3 separate regions of the Homo sapiens genome follow, and all the other regions are linked to region 1. Evidence: promoter capture Hi-C in 16 types of primary human blood cells and fetal thymus (Javierre and others, 2016). All regions are on one chromosome and are shown on one strand. The core of a region is centred on a gene start or on the middle of the fragment in contact, and the rest is flanking DNA. Distances in the headings are between cores, read along the strand shown. Region 1 holds the start of NEURL2 (neuralized E3 ubiquitin protein ligase 2). Region 2 overlaps DNTTIP1 (deoxynucleotidyltransferase terminal interacting protein 1). Region 3 overlaps UBE2C (ubiquitin conjugating enzyme E2 C).

The links. The method cuts DNA at HindIII sites, captures the fragments that hold promoters and counts their contacts. A CHiCAGO score of 5 or more calls a contact.
Region 2: a contact is called between a fragment that was not itself captured here and the fragment with the promoter of NEURL2 in region 1, in 14 of 17 cell types (megakaryocytes, erythroblasts, naive CD4 T cells and 11 more). The highest score is 23.9, in megakaryocytes.
Region 3: a fragment that was not itself captured here is called in contact with the fragment with the promoter of NEURL2 in region 1 in 2 of 17 cell types (erythroblasts and megakaryocytes); the score reaches 10.1 in erythroblasts.

What each region holds. Positions count from the first base shown.
Region 1 is chr20:45,888,773-45,892,457 of GRCh38, reverse strand. It overlaps NEURL2 (neuralized E3 ubiquitin protein ligase 2), which reads left to right and starts at 1,250. Exons shown (of 2, transcript NM_080749.4): 1 at 1,250-2,208; 2 at 3,585-3,685. The coding sequence starts at 1,467. CTSA (cathepsin A) reads right to left here and starts at 1,123. Exons shown (of 15, transcript NM_000308.4): 1 at 1,079-1,123; 2 at 696-889; 3 at 431-542; 4 at 135-185; 5 at 1-60. The coding sequence starts at 889. It also overlaps a transcript of SPATA25 not described here. RefSeq lists enhancers at 787-836, 1,076-1,785 and a silencer at 877-1,146. The HindIII fragment of the contact is 4,274 bases long and covers 1-3,685 here.
Region 2 is chr20:45,797,065-45,800,749 of GRCh38, reverse strand. All of the region lies in intron 4 of DNTTIP1 (deoxynucleotidyltransferase terminal interacting protein 1), which reads right to left. Among named protein-coding and RNA genes, the nearest start is that of DNTTIP1, 7.0 kb to the right of the region's middle. The HindIII fragment of the contact is 279 bases long and covers 1,848-2,126 here.
Region 3 is chr20:45,814,183-45,817,867 of GRCh38, reverse strand. UBE2C (ubiquitin conjugating enzyme E2 C) reads right to left here. Exons shown (of 6, transcript NM_007019.4): 3 at 3,398-3,484; 4 at 2,123-2,327; 5 at 1,955-2,014; 6 at 916-1,159. The coding sequence ends at 1,101. Among named protein-coding and RNA genes, the nearest start is that of UBE2C, 3.4 kb to the right of the region's middle. The HindIII fragment of the contact is 4,695 bases long and covers 1-3,685 here.

The DNA of each region.
Region 1 (3,685 bases), core at 1-2,500:
GTCATCGGAGTAGGAGAAGCCCACCCCAGCTGGGGACTCCAGGTATAACACATTGGCAATCTAGAGGGGAGGGAAAAATTAGCTAAATGCCACCCCATCCAAGTGCCCAGACACACCCACAGCTCCAGCTATACCAGATTCCAAGAATAGGGGTTGTACTCCAGGGTGACACCATCTGGCTGGACCTGAGGAGGAAAGAGATGGCTGAGTAAGTCCCAAGGGCCAGCTGGGTGGAGGGAAAGGGCCACCATGAGAGGCACTTTACATGTGGGTAAAACCTCTGAGAGGTACAGGCAGCAAAGCCAATGGCATAGAGGAAAATCCCGAGGCTTAGAAGGAAGGAAACTTTTTGGAAAATCACAAAGCCCCTCTCTCGCTTTCCCCAGCCTTTTACTTTGGGAACTGTGCTTTCCCCCTGCTGTCCACTCACCAGGAAGGGGCCATGCTCTGTGAGGAGCCCATCTAGTGAGCTGCAGCCGGGACCCCCATTGAGCCAAAGCACCACAGGGCTGTTCTCGGGATCCTTCTGGGACTCCACAAACCTGGGAGGGGGGTCAGGGCAGGGTTGGCGCAGTTGGAGGGGCCCTTTCCAGCCCTCCCGGCTCCCAGGCATCCTCAGGGGTCTGCAGAACTACCCCCCATCCCTCATCCGTCATCTCTTCTCCCAATCCCGCCCAGAAGGCAGGGCGGCAGACCAGTAGTGGAGGTGCTTGGAGCCGGAGCCTTTGAGGTAGCCGGAGTACTGGCGGAAAGACGGCTGCTTGGCCAGCCCGGGGAGGCGCTGGATCTCGTCCTGGTCGGGGGCTGCCTCGCCTCGGGACGCCCAGGACACTAGCAGCAGCAGCAGCAGCAGCAGCAGGAACAGCGGCGGCGGCGCGGCTCGGATCATCTACGGGAGGCAGCAGAGGGGCTGTTGACTCGCTCCTCAGCGCTTCCGTGCAGCAGCCCCCGGGGAGTTGCTGGCGGCGCCTCCGCGAGGGAAGCCCCGGCCCCAGCGCCAGCTCCCACCCGCGAGCCTCCTCTGCCGCGCACCGATCCCGGGCTCGGGGATCCCCTCCAGCCTCCGGTGCCAGCTCACCTCTGCTCCCCCGCGTCCTTGCTCTCCAGGAGGCGCCCGGGGACTGGAAGTCATGTGTACGAGTCACGTGAACTCCGGCGCCACGTGACAGTCTTCCTCCCGCCCCTTCTTTGGTCCCTACGGACCTGGGGGGCGGTGGCGGTCAATGCCGGGTCAAGGTCCGCGGGCCTCGCAGATCGTAGCCCGGGCGCACGCGATCAGATGATCCTGTTGTGGACGGCTAAGTTGTAGGCGGGATGGCTGAGAAAGCGGCGCTAGGACCCCCGGGCAGAGGCTCGGGGAAGGGAGTCAGGGGGGAAATGCCTTACAAGGTCGCCTTGCGGTCACCATCATTGCCCGCCGCCCAAAATAGCCCCCGGCGCCAGCTGGCCTGCCCTATGGCCGAGAGATGGCTGCTGCCTCCGAGCCCGTGGATTCGGGTGCACTCTGGGGACTCGAGCGCCCGGAGCCCCCTCCCACCCGCTTCCATCGGGTGCACGGTGCCAACATCCGCGTGGACCCCTCTGGGACGCGGGCCACACGCGTGGAGAGCTTCGCCCACGGCGTGTGCTTCAGCCGCGAGCCGCTGGCCCCGGGCCAGGTCTTCCTGGTCGAGATCGAGGAGAAAGAGCTGGGCTGGTGCGGACATCTGCGTCTCGGTCTGACCGCGCTGGACCCCGCCAGTCTGGCCCCCGTTCCCGAGTTTTCTCTGCCCGATCTGGTCAACCTGGGCCACACCTGGGTCTTCGCCATCACGCGCCACCACAACCGCGTGCCCCGGGAGGGCCGCCCGGAGGCGGAGGCAGCGGCCCCCAGCCGACCTCCAACCCTCCTCGTGGAACCATATCTGCGCATTGAGCAGTTTCGCATTCCCCGGGACCGCCTGGTGGGCCGCAGCCGGCCAGGGCTCTACAGCCATCTCTTGGACCAGCTCTATGAGCTGAACGTGCTGCCTCCGACCGCGCGCCGTAGCCGCCTGGGTGTCCTCTTTTGCCCGCGCCCCGATGGCACGGCCGACATGCACATCATCATCAACGGCGAGGACATGGGCCCGAGCGCCCGGGGACTGCCAGCTGCGCAGCCCCTCTACGCGGTGGTGGACGTGTTTGCTTCCACAAAGAGCGTGCGCCTTGTCCAGCTCGAGTATGGCTGTAGGTATCCCTGGGCAGCGACCCCTCCTGGCTCAGTGTGGGGACTGGAATCTACTAGGGCTCCGTAGCCCATGTGCTAGGCCTTCGTCTGTCCGGCACTAGTTTAAGAGTGGGAGAATCTAGCTTCAAATTGCACCTCTGCTTGTGATCTTGCACAAGCCTCTACATGGTTTTGGGCCTTGGTACCTATCTTGGTTGATTGATTAAGATGCCCTACAAGTTCCCTTTTAGTTTTGATAGTGTTTCCTGTATTCACCTAGGGCAGGGATTCTAAACCAATTTTAGATATTAGGGGCCTCTTTGAGAATTGTTTGCCCTTTTCTTAGAAACATGCTTGGCCGGGCACAGTGGCTCACACCTGTAATCCCAGCACTTTGGGAGGGGGAGGCAGGCAGATCACTTGAGGCCAGGAGTTCGAGACCAGCCTGGCCAACATGGTGAAAGCCTGTCTCTACTAAAAATACAAAAAGTAGCTGGGTGTGGTGGCATGTGCCAATAATCCCAGCTATTCAGAAGGCTGAGGCAGGAGAGTCACTTGAACCCGAGAGGTGGAGGTTGCAATGAGCCGAGATCTCACCAGTGCACTCCAGCCTAGGCAACAGAGCAAGACTCTGAAAAAAAAAAGAAAGAGAGAGAGAGAGGAAGAGAGAGAAAGCAAGCAAGCAAGCAAGCTAGCTAGCTCAAGCCTGGGCAACAAAGTGAGACCCCATCTGTACAAAAAATTAAATAATTATCTGGGCATGGTGGTGCATGCCTGTAGTCCCAGCTATTTGGGAGGCTAAGGCAGGAGGATCGCTTGAGCCCAAGAATTGAAGGCTGCAGTTCACTGAGCACTGCACTTCAGCCTGGGTGACAGAGCAAGACCCTCTCTCTTTAAATAAAAAAAAAAAAAGAAAGAAAAGAAAGAAACATGCTCATAGACTTGGGCATATTGGCTATTGGCTTCGAGGCATAACAAACCCCAGACTGAGAGCTTCTTAATGCTGAGTATGATTCATTATAGCCCTGGTAAGCATTGCAGTTATACCTCTCATCACATTTCATGAACTCAATGCACCAGAACCCTCTTTGTGCCAGGCCTGTGCTGGAGGCTTCAGTTGCACAGGCAAATCAGACACTACCCCTGCCCCCAGAAGCTGCTAAGTGAATGGGGAAGGGATTGTGCTAAGTGTTATGATATAAACAGGGCTGCAGCTTTGTGGCAGCTCTCAGGAAGAGGTGCTTCTCTCAGCCCCATGAAGCAGGCTGGGCCCAGAGAGCAGTAAGGACTTGCCCACATTTAATGACAAAGTGGGGACCATGACCTAGACCTTCTGGATCTTGGCCTCAGACCCACCCTCCAGTTCAGTTTGCCTTTCACAGTCTTCTTCCCACAGTGCCATCCCTGCAGACTCTGTGCCGCCTAGTGATACAAAGGAGCATGGTGCACCGGCTGGCCATTGATGGGCTCCACCTGCCCAAAGAACTTAAGGATTTC
Region 2 (3,685 bases), core at 738-3,237, 92 kb after region 1:
TATATATATATATATATATATATATATATATATATATATATATATATATATATATTTTTTTTTTTTTTTTAAATTGAGATGGAGTTTCACTCTTGTCGCCCAGGCTGGAGTGCAGTGGTGCTATCTCAGCTCACTGCAACCTCCGCCTCCTGGGTTCAAGCGATTCTCCTGCCTCAGCCTCCCAGGCAGCTGAGATTACAGGTGCCCACCACCATGCCCAGCTAATTTTTGTATTTTTATTAGAAACGGGGTTTCACCATGTTGGCCAGGCTGGTCTCGAACTCTTAACCTCAGGTGATCCACCTGCCTTGGCCTCCCAAAGTGCTGCGATTACAGGCATGAGCCACCACGCCCAGCCACACACATATATATATTTATATGCATAGAAATAGATATCTATTTTTAAAAAAACTTGAATTAATGATCATGGCTGGAAAAATTAAAAAATGTAAAAAAGCAAAATAAGAAAAACCTGGAATCTCATTACATAAACTACTATTAATGTTTCAATGTAAATTCTTCCTTGCTTTTCCCATGTAAATACATACTGTATGTTTTTTCAAACTAAATACATTAGTATAACACATACTCCTCAGTAAGCTGCTGTTTTTCTTTTTTCTTTTTTTTTTTGACATGGAATCTTGCTCTGTTGCCCAGACTGGAGTACAGTGGTGCGATCTCGGCTGTCTGCAATCTCCGCCTCCCAGGTTCAAGCAATTCTCCTGCCTCTGCCTCCTGAGTAGCTGGGATTACAGGCGTGCAACCACACCCAGCTAATTTTTTTTTTTTTTTTTTTTGGTATTTTTAGTAGAGATGGGGTTTTATCACGTTGGCTAGGCTAGTCTCACACTTCTGACCTCGTGATCTGCCCGCCTCAGCCTCCCAAAGTGTTGGGATTACAGGCGTGAGCCAGTGCGCCTGGCCTGCTGTTTTTCTTTTAATAAATACTGAGTACCTGGGACCTAAGTGCTGTGGACACAGCAGTAACTAGGACAAGCTCTTGTGGAGCTTATAGTTTGTGGGTGATCTGGATAATAAGCACAGAAACAAACAAGGTAACTGTGGATCATGATAGATGCTGTGAGAAAAAAAGAAAAAAACCCAGGCAGATGTGACAGAGAACCACCAGAGGGGAAGGGCTACTTTGCGGGAATGGCCAGGGAAGGCCTTGCTCAGAAGGTGGCCTCTGAGTTGAGATGTGAAGGAGGCTGTAAAAAAAGCTGGGCAGAAGTGTTTCAGCAGCAGGGAGGAGTGCAGAAGCTCAAAGGTGGGAACACCTGGCTCATTTGACAAAGAAAAGGATGGAATGGGCAGAGGGGAGATGGTGCAGCAGGTGGAGAATTGGGTTCACCCGACCTCTGCCAGTGGCATTTGACAGTGCTGAGGGCTCCCCCTTCTGGAAACACTCTTTTCTACAGGCTCCTGTGGCCACACTTCCTGTGTTCCTTCTACTTCTCTGGCCGTTCTTTCTTAGCCTTCTTTGCTGGCTTTTCCTTCTCAATCTGGTTCTTTTCCCTATCCTCTCTCATTACATATTCTATCTGCTCTCACCTATTCTCACAGCTTCAATTAACATCTATAAACCACGATTCCATAATTCAACTGTAGACAAAAGGTTATCCTCTGAGCTCTAGACTTATATACCAAATAGTCTGCCCCATGTCTATGCTTGGATGGCTCAAAGCTGCTAATCCATAATTGGATTCATGCTCTTCTCCTCCAAACTTTGTCCCTTTCCAGTGAAGGGTGATCAAGTCTCAATGTGTAATTATGCACACATTTGTTGGTAATCTAATTCACACCTGTCTGCTTAAGTAGGCTGTTAAGTTCTATTAGAGCAGGAAGCTTGTTTGTTCATTTATCATTTGTTTGTTCCTTCATTTACTCAATAATTCAGCAAACTCTGTACACATACTAAGAGTCATATTCCAGGGCTGGGAATACAGTGGTGAACAAGATTAGGCCTCAACTCTTGTAAAGCTCAAGATTTTAGCAGAGGTAGGAGTGCGAGGGGAAGACCTCTCTGATATTTAAACTAAGATCTGAAGAAAAGAAGGAGCCGGCTTTATAGAGTTAAGGGTAGAGTACCCCAGGTACTAAGAACAGCAAGTGAAATGGCCTAAGCTTGTGCTGGAGGAGCAGAAAGGAGTTCAGAACAGCCAGAGTATAGTCAATAAAAAAGAGGTGAGATGAAATGAAGTTAAAGAAGCAGGCAGAAGCCAGTCGAGGGTAGGCTCTGTGGGTCATGGTAAGGCATTTTTTTTTAAATTATACTTTAAGTTTTAGGGTACATGTGCACAACATGCAGGTTTGTTACATATGTATACATGTGCCTTGTTGGTGTGCTGCACCCAGTAACTCGTCATTTAACATTAGGTATATCTCCTAATGCTATCCCTCCCCCCTCCCCCAACCCCACGACAGGCCCCGGTGTCTGATGTTCCCTTTCCTGTGTCCATGTGTTCTCATTGTTCAATTCCCACCCATGAGTGAGAACATGCGGTGTTTGGTTTTTTGTCCTTGTGATAGTTTGCTGAGAATGATGGTTTCCAGCTTCATCCATGTCCCTAAAAAGGACATGAACTCATCACTTTTTATGGCTGCATAGTATTCCATGGTATATATGTGCCACATTTTCTTAATCCAGTCTATCATTGTTGGACATTTGGGTTGGTTCCAAGTCTTTGCTATTGTGAATAGTGCCACAATAAACATATGTGTGCATGTGTCTTTATAGCAGCATGATTTATATTCCTTTGGGTATATACCCAGTAATGGGATGGCTGGGTCAAATGGTATTTCTAGTTCTAGATCCCTGAGGAATCGCCACACTGACTTCCACAATGGTTGAACTAGTTTACGGTCCCACCAACAGTGTAAAAGTGTTCCTATTTCTCCACATCCTCTCCAGCACCTGTTGTTTCCTGACTTTTTAATGATCACCATTCTAACTGGTGTAAGATGGTATCTCATTGTGGTTTTGATTTGCATTTCTCTGATGGCCAGTGATGATGAGCATTTTTTCATGTGTCTTTTGGCTGCATAAATGTCTTCTTTTGAGGAGTGTCTGTTCATGTCCTTTGGCCACTTGTTGATGGGGTTGCTTGTTTTTTTCTTGTAAATTTGTTAGAGTTCATTGTAGATTCTGGGTATTAGCCCTTTGTCAGATGAGTAGATTGCAAAAATTTTCTCCCATTCTGTAGGTTGCCTGTTCACTCTGATGGTCATTTCTTTTGCTGTGCAGAAGCTCTTTAGTTTAATTAGATCCCATTTGTCAATTTTGGCTTTTGTTGCCATTCCTTTTGGTGTTTTAGTCATGAAGTCCTTGCCCATGCCTATGTCCTGAATGGTATTGCCTAGGTTTTCTTCTAGGGTTTTTATGGTTTTAGGTCTAACATTTAAGTCTTTAATCCATCTTGAATTAATTTTTGTATAAGGTGTAAGGAAGGGATCCAGTTTCGGCTTTCTACATATGGCTAGCCAGTTTTCCCAGCAGGATCATGGTAAGGCATTAAGACTTTATTCTCCCTGCAACAGGAAAGTCACTGAAGGGTTTTTAAAATGGGGAGTGACATGATCTAATTCATCTTTACGGAGATCAGTCTGGCTGCTGTGAGAAGAGTGGATTGGAACTGGGTAACGGTGAATGTAACTCTGGACTGAGATATAAATGTGTGAATTATGA
Region 3 (3,685 bases), core at 545-3,044, 75 kb after region 1:
ATTTAACAAGATCCCAAGTGTATTTGTATGAATGTTAGATTAAGAAAAAACCCAAGAGGAGAGACCTAAGAGCACAATTATAGACATGAAGGGACCCAACTTCCAATCCCAAACCCCTCCCGCTTCAGGCTTGCACAACCAACCAGCTGCTAACAGACCTGAAGGAGTTGGGTGCAAGGTTGGAGCACATCTGGATGCTGCTTATCTACCTTGGAGATCTTCCTGAAGGGCTTTGTGGGGGCCCTATCACTTCAACCTACTCTTCCACCTGCCGACCCTTGTGGGGACCCAGCTGGTCAGCAGGGGTGTTTCCTCCTAGGGGCTCAAAGACTGGAGCCTTCATCAGGCCAGGGGAAAGAGGCAGCCCAAGGGGCTGGGGGCTCCCTGGGGGATATGCAGCAGGAGGCGACTGTGCCCCCTTGGAGGTGGAGCTCCACCGGGGACCTGGGCTAGAGCCTGGAGACCAGAGCTCAGACCTGAGTCCTGCCAGGGAAGGGGCTTTTTTCCTGGCTGTCTCCCCAGGCCCTGGACCTGCTTAGGGTGACCTAAGCATTCTTCTTCAGGACAGAACATGGGTGGCTGTGTGTTGGGATCCCCCCCCCAACACACACGCTTGTTCCTTCTACAGCTATAGGAGTAGGTTTCAGCCTAAGGTCTGGCTCAGCCTCATCTGCAACACAGCTGAGGGAGCTCCAACATTCACTAACATTGCTGGTACACATCACCGACTCCATAGACAGGAGGCATTATTGTGACACTCATTTTATAGATGAAGAAACAGATGCAGAGTCATAAAATAAGGTACAAGGGAATAAATCTTTGTCACCCCATTGCTTGGCCCCACATCCTTAAGTTCCACCTCTGCCTACCCTGAGTACCTCCAACCCTAGTGAAATTACAACGCAACAACTTGTCTAAAAAAGGACAAAAATGCATTTATTTAATATACAAGGGCTCAACCGAGGCTTAATTTAAAAGACAAAAACAAAACAAAAATACCACAGCTCAAGATAAAGAGTCCTATACAGAAATCACAAAAAGGACAGACCATCTAAGGAAAAATTAAAAAGACGACACAAGGACAGGCTGGGCAGCCTGGGTCAGGGCTCCTGGCTGGTGACCTGCTTTGAGTAGGTTTCTTGCAGGTACTTCTTAAAAGCTGGAAGAGAACAGGCAGGTCTCAGTGAGTGATGGAGACAGGATGAGTTAATCTTTACTATTTATTATTTTTGAGATGGAGTCTCACTCTGTTGACCAAGCTGGAGTGCAATAGCATGATGTCTGCTCACTGCAACCTCTGCTTCCTAGATTCAAGTGATTCTCTTGCCTCAGCCTCCTGAGTAGCTGGGACTACAGGTGCCTACCACCATACCCGGTTAATTTTTTTTGTATTTAGTAGAGACGGGGTTTCACCATGTTGGCCAGGCTGGTCTCAAACTCCTGACCTCATGTGATCCACCCACCTCGGCCTCCCCAAGTGCTAGGATTACAGGCATGAGCCACTGTGCCTGGCCCAGGATGAATTAAGGTGGGCAAGAGGCAGCTGGACCAGGGATGCAAAGGTCGGAGGAGGTGGAGGAGGGGCTGGTTTCCCAGCCCGGCATTCTCCCTGCACTGCCCATCTAGGCAGCTCTCCTGGAAGGGCTTGCTTCCAGTGAGACTGGAGGGCACAGGCAAGGCACTCTACTGAATTCCTGGCCTCAAGCTATCCTCCTGCCTTGGTCTCACCAATAATTTCCCAAAATTATTTATCGCCAAACATTTTTATTCTGCTATAAAACAATTGCTATTTTATAGCAAATAGGAGCACTGGGGCAGAAACAGAAGTGGGTTGCTGCCGACACTCCACCCTGCCCCAACCAACCCGGTCCCAAGTCACTGGGCTCCTTTTGTTTGAGGGAGCCTTTGAAGGTTGGGGGAGGGATCACCCTGGGCTCAAGGACTGAGGACTCACCTGTGGGGTTTTTCCAGAGCTCGGCAGCATGTGTGTTCAAGGGACTATCAATGTTGGGTTCTGTGGGTGGAGAGAAAGAGAAGGTCAAGGCGGTAGAAGAGGCTGACCCCAGGGAGTCCTGACAGGTTCCCAAGTTGCATGGAGGGGAGGGGTGGTCTCTAAAGTCACCTCCTAGAAGGCTCTGGATGGAGAGCAGAATGGTCCTGACATCATACAGGGCAGACCACTTTTCCTTCAGGATGTCCAGGCATATGTTACCCTGGGTGTCCACGTTGGGGTGATAGCAGGGCGTGAGGAACTTCACTGTGGGCGCATTGTAAGGGTAGCCACTGGGGAACTCTAGCGAGAGCTTATACCTCAGGTCTTCATATACCTGGCATTTGGAGAAACAGTTGCAGAGTAAGCTCCAGCAGCAGCCTCATGTCCCAACCCAAGCCCCACACAAGGGGCTTGCTAGAATCTTGAGTTTCTCTGGGACCGGACAGTAGACAAACTGTTGAGCTGGTTCTGATGCTCCCCACTGCCTTTTTAAAAAGTTTTTTTAGTTTAGTTTTTATTTTAGAGACAGGGTTTCACCATGTTGCCCAGGCCAGTCTCAAACTCCTGGGCTCATGTGATCTGCCTGCCTCAGCCTCCCAAAGTGCTGAGATTACAGGTGTGAGCCACTATGCCTAGCCTGATGCTTTCCTCTTATCTGGTGGAGACATCAGTGACTCTTTGGTCTAAGGATTGTAAATTGGCATCCTGTGCTTTAGTTCAATTAGAATATTAGTTGCTGGCCGGGCGTGGTGGCTCACGCCTGTAATCCCAGCACTTTGGGAGGCCGAGGCGGGTGGATCTTGAGGTCAGGAGATCGAGACCATCCTGGCTAACAAGGTGAAACCCCGTCTCTACTAAAAATACAAAAAATTAGCCGGGCGTGGTGGCGGGCGCCTGTAGTCCCAGCTACTCGGAGGCTGAGGCAGGAGAATGGCGTGAACCCGGGAAGCGGAGCTTGCAGTGAGCCGAGATTGCGCCACTGCAGTCCGCAGTCTGGCCTGGGCGACAGAGCGAGACTCCGTCTCAAAAAAAAAAAAAAAAGAATATTAGTTGCTAATACGTAAAAATTAGATTTGGCACAGATTTGGACTTCTGACTCATCTTAAACCTGATCTGCAGCAATGGGAAGCTGCCTTCTTGAGATCTGGCCCTATTGGCCAAAGTCCTCACTTCATCCATTTCCTTGCTGTCTGTCCCCCCATGTAAACATCTAAGATAGGCAGCCCTGCTTTAAACCCACCCTTTATTGCACAGAGGGAAAGAACAAGGCCACATGGCTCAGAGAATGTAAACAGTCACAGGAGGAGTGTCTTGCTCCGCCAAAGGCTTGAAGCAGAGCTCGCACTTGGATCTCACTTCCCACCTTTCCCCAGACTCACTCACCCATCCCAGCCCTACACTTACTGTTCCAGCTGCTCCATGGATGGTCCCTACCCATTTGAAAAGGTTGTCTGATTCAGGGAAGGCAGAAATCCCTTTATCGCCAGACATCTGGGGAGAAAACACATTTGTTGGAATGTGGAGTACACTTTTGGGCATAGCAAAGGTCAGTGGGTGAGCTTTCCCCTTAATTTTATATATATATATATATATATATATATATGCTCACATACACACACACACATATATATGTATACACACACACATATATATGTGTATATATATGAGATATAGATGGGGTTATGCCATCTC